Linked DNA regions of Homo sapiens: region 1 is linked to region 2. Evidence: promoter capture Hi-C in human tissues and cell types (Jung and others, 2019). All regions are on one chromosome and are shown on one strand. Each heading gives the region's core, a stretch centred on a gene start or on the middle of the fragment in contact. The rest is flanking DNA. Distances are from core to core; before and after follow the strand shown.

Region 1 (4,228 bases), core at 659-3,158, 410 kb before region 2:
AGAGAGGGAGAGGGTGAAGCAGGAGGAGGCTGAAAACTTCACGTTTCTTTTTTCCATTTTAGTGACAAGAGTCACACCCAGCCTTTACATAAACATGGCCAAGGAGCCTCTCTGTCTAAGCTTACTTCCCTTGTGGCCGCCCAGCCTCTCCTCCGGGTGACCCTGACACGCTGGGCAGGCTCATGAGGGGCAAACATACAGACCCTGCAAAGATTAGCTGGGCCATCTGACAACACCCATGCCTCCCGCCGGCCTCCATGCGCTACCCTGCATTTATCTCCCGCCTTCCTCATACCAAATCCCCTCCGCAGCCCCACCGCCACTTAAGCACACAGACGGCAGGCACGCACACACAGCCTGCTTGCGGCTGGCCTCTTGGGTCTGAGGCCCACACTGCCCTTGTCACGCCACCTCCCTCCCCACATGTGTTTTCTGACCAGTTTGCCTCCCAGCTCAGCAGCCCAGACAGGCTCCTACAAACAACGTCACAAAAGAATCCTGTGGAGAATGTTGCAAACACACAACCTTCCCCTCGCTTGGCTGCCCATGATCCCATAAACACAACTGGCGCATTCCACCTCGAGCCCCTCACACCAGTGCCAACTGACCCACAGGCCCCTGAGACATACCCCGGGGTTCCTCGCTCCTCTCATGATCTTTGGGATCTGAGTTCTAGACGCGCAGCCCCCATGCAACGCGCTCATCACAGACACGCAAACCCATCCATCGCCCTCTTCACCACTGGACCACACCTCAGCAGGGCCACAGAAATGGGACCCAGACGTGACGCCTTCTGACTCAAAGGCCCACAACCGCCCCCTCCAAAAGGGCACATACACTGCATCCTGGCACCCTCCGCAACACATACAGCATGCCAGCTCTGCAGAAAACAGTTCATAAACAGGTCATAGGTGCAGCACAAGACACACATGCGAGAAAACACATGCTGTAGAAAACATACAGCCCCACATCGAACAAACTCTGCACCCAGCATGCTGTGCCCTGCTCAGAATACCCATCTGTCACCCAAAGCCACAGGGCTCGTCTTGTAACTCTGCCCCACAACACTGGACACCCTTCCTGGCTTTCTATCTCCATGGCCCAGGGAGGGCCCTACCCAGACCCCTGGCTGCCAGCAAACGGTGGTGCCCAGGAGAGGTTTACCTTGCCCCACCACACAGCACAAGACACACGATCTCCAAGACTCACAGCCACAACCCTGCCCCGACGGCGCGGCGGTTCCGGGGCCCCAGCTCGCCCTGCGCACCCCGCACACCCCAACTCTGGGGCGCTCGGCGGCCCACCCCTCCCCCTCTCTGCCTGGCTCCTACGCCATCACCCTCCCAGCAGCTTGCAGCGCTTGCCCGGGCTCACACCCGCCCCACCCCACCCCCAATCTGCCCCACGGGGGGAGGGGGCCATTAGGCTGCAGAATTAACCCTTCAAAGAGGGAGTGAGCACCTCCCCTTCCACGGCCCCAGGCGATCGCGTCCCACGGCCGCCCCTCGCTCGGACGCCATACCAGGGCCCCCTTAGTCGCCCCCCAGCGTCGTGCGCGCCCGGGGGCGGGGCCAGGCTCAGCCCCCGACCCCTGCGCCCCCAGGTCAACCCCAAAGGAGAGCGGTCTGGGCGCGGGGCGCGGTCGGGGCTCCCGCAGCGCCGGGCAGCGGAGAGGGGGCCTGGCAGTTGGCTCCGGTCCGCCCTGGCCCTGCCCAGTTCGCCCCAGGGCCCACCTGACTGCGATGGCGCCGCGTCCGCCAGGCCCGGCTCATCACCGTGGCCGCCCCCGGCCGCTCCGGTTTTGCCCGCCTCCAGCTCCGGCTCCGGCTCCAGCTCCGGCCCTGGCCCCCCCAGCGCCTGGCCCCGGCCCGGCCCCGCTGCCGCCGCCGCCGCCGCCGCTGACATCATCGGCTCCCCCCGCCCCGGTCCTACCCCCACCCCCACCCCCGGAAACAGTCCCCCCCCAGCGCCGCCGCCGCCGCCGCCGAGAGGAGGCCGGCGCAGCGCAGCCGACACCGACACAAAGCTCCGAGCGCCCGACGGCCTTCCCCAGGACTGACCCCCGCGGCATGACACTGCGCCGCGCTGGGCCACCGGGCGGGTGGACACCGAGCGGGGCGCGGGCCGGGCTGCAGCATCCCGGCAGGGGCGCAAGACCACCGACCCCCAGGGAAAGGGCTCCCTCCGCCCTTCCTCCTGCACGCCCTTCACTCAGCGGTGCACACTGCCTGAAAGCATAACACACAGGCTCTCAGGGTGCAGACATGACATGGCAGACTCATAATCAGGCCCGGTGGGACTCACAGACCCAGGGTCGGCACACTCAAAGAGGGCCAGCCCTGGACACACACACACACCCTCTCCAGGAATGCGCAGGAAAGCTCAGCAGGCCGCGGAAAAAGAAGGCCCTGGCCCTGCATACGGGGCACACACGAACGACCACCAGCGCAAATGAACACATGAAGCTGGCTGGGTACTTTGTCCCCACCAGCAGATAGATCCACATCTGTATACTTGAACATAAATGCAGAGGCCTTGGTGTCGGCCTCTGGGGACAGCATCAACAAAACACCAGGTGGAAGCACACACAGAAAAAACACATTCCTGAAACTCCACAGGGACAATCCCAAGAACTCCTCCCTGGTGCTGGAAAATTAAAAACTAAGGAGATGGAGGAGCCAGGGTTCACAGCTCCTTGCCTTAAAACCTCTCTGAGGCTGGGCGCGGTGGCTCACGCCTGTAATCCCAGCACTTTGGGAGGCCGAGGTGGGCGGATCACGAGGTCAGGAGATCGAGACCATCCTGGCTAACACGGTGAAACCCTGTCTCTACTAAAAATACAAAAAAATTAGCCGGGCGTGGTGGCGGGCGCCTGTGGTCCCAGCTACTCGGGAGGCTGAGGCAGGAGAATGGCGTGAACCTGGGAGGCGGAGCTTGCAGTGAGCCGAGATCTCGCCACTGCACTCCAGCCTGGGCGACAGAGACAGACTCCGTCTCAAAAAAAAAACAACAACAAAAAAACCTCTCTGAAACCATGCAAGATATAAATAAACAAATTAATGTAAAGCCACAGAGCTAGCCATAAAAAGAATAAAAGAATCAGACAAACTTTGGAGTCATGGAGACATAAATAGAAAAGAAGCAGAGTTGGGCTGGGCACGGTGGCTCATGCCTGTAATTCCACCACTTTGGGAGGCGGGGGGTGGTGGGGTGGATCACTTGAGGTAAGGAGTTCAAGACCAGCATGGCCAACATGGAGAAACCCCATCTCTACGAAAAATAAAAAATTAGCGGGGTGTGGTGGCACATGCCTGTAATCCCAGGTACTTGGGAGGATGAGGTAGGAGAATTGCTTGAACCCAGGAGGTGGAGGTTGCGGTGAGCCGAGATTGCACGCACCACTGCACTCCAGCCTGGGCAAGAAGAGCAAAACTCCGTCCCAAAAAAAAAAAAAAAAATTAGCCAGGTGTAGTGGCACATTCTTGTAATCCCAGCTACTTGGGAGGCTGAGGCAGGAGAATCGCTTGAATCTGGGAGGTGGAGGTTGCAGTGAGATGAGATCACACCATTGCACTCCAGCCTGGATAACAAGAGTGGAAACTTCGTCGCAAACAAAAAAAGAAAGAAAGAAAGAAAAGAAGCAGAGTTGGACTCAGCGGGAAAATAGGCGTGCTACCACCTCAGGAGAGTTCCAGGGAAGAACCCCACCCCCACTCCAACCATGTCACAATGGCTGGAGCTCTGAGGGGCCCAGGCTCCCTGAGCCAGGAGGAGAGGAGAAAGTCCAAGGAAAGATGGTGAGTGTGGGGGCCAGGGGCCTAGTACTCCCTCCCTATAGCTCCTGGTTGCTCCATTTCCCCTCCTTTCCTAAAACTTAGCTGTCTCAGAGATACCCACAAATAGAATTCATAATGGTGTACCCAGATGTCTCTGGAACCTGTGGCATCATACAGATGCATAGCATCTGAGGCTTCCTCCCCTTCCTCAATCCGAGAGAGCATCCTGGGTCCTTTTTCTCCTCCCAGGAACAACTTACCCAGGGAAACGATGCTCCAGGACTGCTCACTCCTTGCTTCCTGCTCCAGGCCCACATTATAACATCTCACTCATCTTTTAGGCCCTTTCTAGCTCCGAAGAGTTCCTCAGCAAGATAGCCCAACACTGTACAGTCCCACAGGGTCCCAGACCCCATCCTGGCATCTGCCCTGCCCCAGGTCGCCTGGGCTGC
Region 2 (4,282 bases), core at 1,711-4,210:
CCACAGTCCACGCAGACCACTTCCTGGAATAAGGCAGGAGCTCGTCCCCTCGCTCCCCCAGCCTGTGCAGGGACAGCAGTCCATTCGGATTGGGGAGCGGAGAGAAGAGTGTCTGGGGAACCAGATACCCCCGGCTCCACCCCCTTCATCTCGCCGGGGCTCTGGGCTCTTTTGTGTCAAGTGCGGTGGGGGGGGTCCCCCTCTTGACCCCGTCAGTCTGGGGTGGCCAAGCTGCCCAGCTGTGACTCTCACGTGGCTGCCATTCACTGTCACTCACTCTCTCGCTGAAACCACCCACTCCCTGAGCACGTTGGGGGGCGTGAACTGCCCACCCAGCTGTTCTGCAGCTTGACCATCACTCAGCACCCGTCCCCCGAGGTGACAAGTCACCCGGCGGCACTCTCTGGGCGGCGCTCTCCAGACCGCTGCGCCGCGTCAGGCGCCCAGCGGTGTCCCCCTCAGACCACCCTCCTAGTGGAGTGATTTCTAGTCTTCTTTGGGATAGGTGAGCATCTGGGTGTCCACACCCCCTGCTTGGGGAACAGCAGGGGGACCTCCGCACCCCCGGGCCTCTGGCTGCCATGCGGCACAAATGCACCAAACTTCAAAACGGCCAACTCCGGGCTCTTTGTAAAACTGTCATATTGATCCGTGTGGCTTCTGTGGCAAACGTTCCTGTCTAGCCGAGACGACCTTTGGGGGAGCGGGGGGTGCTTTCTTGTGGGTCGGGGAGGGATGTGTGTCTCCTGGAAACTGGATAAAGTCTCCCCGCCCCCCAAGCTTGTCTGAAAAAGGGTAAAGTTTTGAAAAAGTTCTCCCAGAGAGCCCCCTGCCTTGGCAGGAGGAGGAGGAATGAGGAGTTGTGGGGAGAGGGTGCCTTTGGGGTTGCCTCCGGCAGAGGCGCTGAAAAGAGGGAAAGAAAGGCCGTCAGGTCCTGCCAGGGGCTTGGCAGCGCTCACCTATTTGTATTGGGACTTGGAGTCTGGGGTGGGGTGGTGTGGGTCCCGGATCTGGGTACGTTGGGGAGAGAAGCGTGAAAGGATCCGAGGTTGAGATGGGTCTTTGTGTCAACCCGGCCTCCCCTTTCCCTCTTGGCTTTCTGAATAGACCAGAAGAGACGTCAGAGGCTGCTTACATTTTACAACTGAAATGAAAACCCACCTCCCCTCTCCCCCTGGGCAATTTTTATCTCCCTTTCAGCCCTCCAAGTCGAATGAGTGACCCAGATACACCCCCTCAGATGACTTTCGGAGGTAAAACTTCGGGAAATTATTTTTAGCACACTCATTATTTCTGTCTACCTAAGTGTGGGGAAAAGAACCCTCCTCTAAGGAAATTTGTTCAGGCTGCCCTCGCTCTTCCTTGTCTAGAGTATGCATTTGTGCACAGGAGAGATTTCCATTGTTTTCCATTCCGACTGCTTTGATTCTCACCATTTTGTTTTACATTCTTACTCAAGACCAATTTTATCCCTTCCCCCTCTCTCCAGTCTCCTTACATTGTTAAACGTTTAAAATAATAGCAGTCGTGTTGGTGGGGGAAGGGAGCAGGAAGCCAAAAACTCATTTCTTCTCCCTCCCCCTTCTGGCAAGTCGAGAGAAATAATATAACATAATATATAGATGTGATTCCTTGGGGGTGGGGGTGGGGAATGATTGTGGGTGGTGCGGAAAATTCTGGTAGTTTCTTTGCAAAAGGTCTGAAAATACAAACCCACCCCCTGCCTGCAGTACGCATGTGCAGCAGACCTATTATGGTGGTGCGTTGTGGGGGAGGGAGGGGAATTTGAGAAAAAATAAATATATGTGTGAGAGATTGATGGTGAGATTAGAAGAAGAGAGGGGCGGGCGGGAGGCGAGGCTTCGGCCGAGACTCCTCCCGCTTGCTCGGGCGGCCAGGCTCCGCCCTGCGCCCTCCGGCCCCCGCCTCTCTCCTCCCTGCCTCCCTGAGATCCGAGCCGGGGATGTGGGAGAGTCTGGGCTCCAGGCCAGCATTGAGTGGCTGCTGAGACCGAGGTTGGGACTTAGATTTGCTTTATTACCCTTCCTTGCTTTTCCTTGCCGTTCTCGCTTTGCCTCTCCCGCCACCGACGCCTGCCCAAGTTCGGGAACCTCCCGCTGGGGTGGGGAGTAGAGTGAACCGGCTTGTGCACCACCCCTGGCTGGTGGTGGCCGAGGCCGTGTCCCTGAACCTTAGCCAGTTGGCCTGCCCTTGCCACTGCCTCGGCAGCCTGCGTTTCCATGTTCAAGTCAACCGAAGTCCCTGGGGCCAGGGGGAGCCGGCTGCTGGGGCATGGCGCCTTCCTTGCTGACTTCCTATTACAGTCCCCATTCCGTTTCACACCCGGGCTCTGGCAGCCACCCCCCTGCACACACGCACACAGTCCTAGAGTGTCTTCCTGCACAAGGGGACACAGGATGCTGGAGTTAGCAGGAAAGGTGGCACTGAAGGAAGGCGAGGCAGCGACTCTGAGGCAGTGGAAACGGAGGCCTCTGGTGTTAATTGTGGCTAATTTTCCGTTGGCTGTTGAGGGAAGGAGAAAGGATTGTGTGTCCTAGAGCTAGGGGCTGGGCCAAGCCCAGGCTTTCCCATCTTGCATCGGCTGCCTCTCTCTGTACTAGACAGGTCTGGCTGGTTAGTCTAGTGCTTGGTAGGGGAGGGACGTGAACCAGAGCCCCAGGGCCCCAGGTCTGTGGGGCATCCTGTCTTCCTTTATGTGGGGTAACTCTCCGTTCCGTTCCCCAAGCCTTCACAGAGTGACACCTTCACAGATAATGGGGTGGGGGGCCTGGGGTCCTCTGGCAGAGACATCTGGGGAGAAAGCCAGGGACCTATCCCTGCTGAAGCAGGTACAGGCCATCCTCTGGATTTGTGGGCCTGAGAGTGTGTGTGGGTGTGGGTGCGCGCGTGCGCGCGCGTGCTTTTGAGAAGGCATATGCTGGGTGTGTCTGTCTGTGCCTATATCTTTGTTTGGGTCTCCCATACTGCGTATAGATGAATGGGTCAGGATATCTGGAACAAAATATGGAGGTGAAGGGTGAGATCGGGAAACAAAGGGTATGGCCCCCTAGTTCCCAAAGGGAGCAGGGAGATGGGAATAGAATTGAAGGTAGGTTTTAGGCTACTTGGGAGGAGGAATATTTAGGTAATTGTGGAGACTTTCTCCTGTGTGATGAAGGCGGCAGACACTGTGATCCTGTGGGCAAGAAGTAAAAATGACCAGCTGAGGATTTCTTTTCCTCCAGGACTGTGTTGGGGTGACAGGATGCCTGGTAATTATCCGAGGAAATGTAAATAGAGGCCTCCCTCTTGGCAAAAGGATGTCAGGGCCCCAGGGTGTTAGTGTGAGAACCCAGGTGTCCACCTTTGGCTCTCCCTCCCCAGCATCTGGCTTAGGGAGCTGCCAGCTTGTGTCTCCCCACTCCAAGTGCTGGGGTCAGGCCAGGCCAGCAGCTGGGCATGGCTTCCCCAGTTCCTGGGCAGGATGCCAGCTGGCGAAGTGAGGGGGAAGGCAGGAGGAGCCCTGGCGGTGACTGAAAGGACCTGCCACAGTCAGAGCCCATGGCCTGGAGCCTGGTCTCTTGTTAGTAGGAGGGGAGGGAGGGGAGTGGTTTGGCTGCTCTTCTCTTCTGACCCCTGACCTCCCATTCAGAACCAGAGCATCCCAGAGTACTCGAAACACTTTCTGTTTGCATCCAGTGAAGGGAGGCAGGGCTTGGAGGAGTTAATGCTTCCTAGAGAGTGGGAACTGCCGAGGTGGGGAAGGGGCAAGTTGAGGGGCCTCAGAGGCTGGAAACCTAGAGGCTTAGGTTTTCTGATGCTTTTTGCTTCAAAGATAAGGATGACATTCGGCTGCTGCCGTCAGCATTGGGTGTGAAGAAGAGAAAACGAGGACCCAAGAAGCAGAAGGAGAACAAGCCAGGAAAACCCCGAAAACGCAAGAAGCGTGTAAGTGTCAAGAATTCCTAACTCTGTGGCAAGGCTCAAGAGACCCATTCTCAGAGACCTACATTTTCTCTGGTCCTGATTACTGGTGTGGGGGTGGGGTTCTGAAGCCAGGGAGGCTTGATCCCCCGGGCCCCCCACTTCCCTGCCACTGTTGGCCTGTATCTCAGGGATCTGGGACCCTAACTTCATTCACTGCAACCTAGTGAAGAGCCTCGTTGTCAGTGTGTCCTCAGCAGCAAAGAGAAGCAGTTGAAAGCACAAGCTCTGGAAGACTGTATGAATTCAAGAGTCCAGCATTCCTCTGTCTAGGATACCAGGCCGTTTATTTGGCTCT

The links. The method cuts DNA at HindIII sites, captures the fragments that hold promoters and counts their contacts. A contact is called where the count stands out against the background at its distance.
Region 1: the fragment with the promoter of ZBTB4 here is called in contact with the fragment with the promoter of CHD3 in region 2 in 1 of the 25 tissues and cell types used here (heart left ventricle).

What each region holds. Positions count from the first base shown.
Region 1 is chr17:7,477,723-7,481,950 of GRCh38, forward strand. It overlaps ZBTB4 (zinc finger and BTB domain containing 4), which reads right to left and starts at 1,909. Exons shown (of 4, transcript NM_001128833.2): 1 at 1,734-1,909. SLC35G6 (solute carrier family 35 member G6) reads left to right here and starts at 3,724. Exons shown (of 2, transcript NM_001102614.2): 1 at 3,724-3,797. The coding sequence starts at 3,795. RefSeq lists silencers at 1,216-1,265, 1,526-1,985, 2,006-2,265. The HindIII fragment of the contact is 10,425 bases long and covers 1-4,228 here.
Region 2 is chr17:7,885,829-7,890,110 of GRCh38, forward strand. CHD3 (chromodomain helicase DNA binding protein 3) reads left to right here and starts at 2,961. Exons shown (of 40, transcript NM_001005273.3): 1 at 2,961-3,272; 2 at 3,836-3,948. The coding sequence starts at 3,173. RefSeq lists enhancers at 24-73, 3,393-3,962 and a silencer at 1,824-1,983. The HindIII fragment of the contact is 8,044 bases long and covers 1-4,282 here.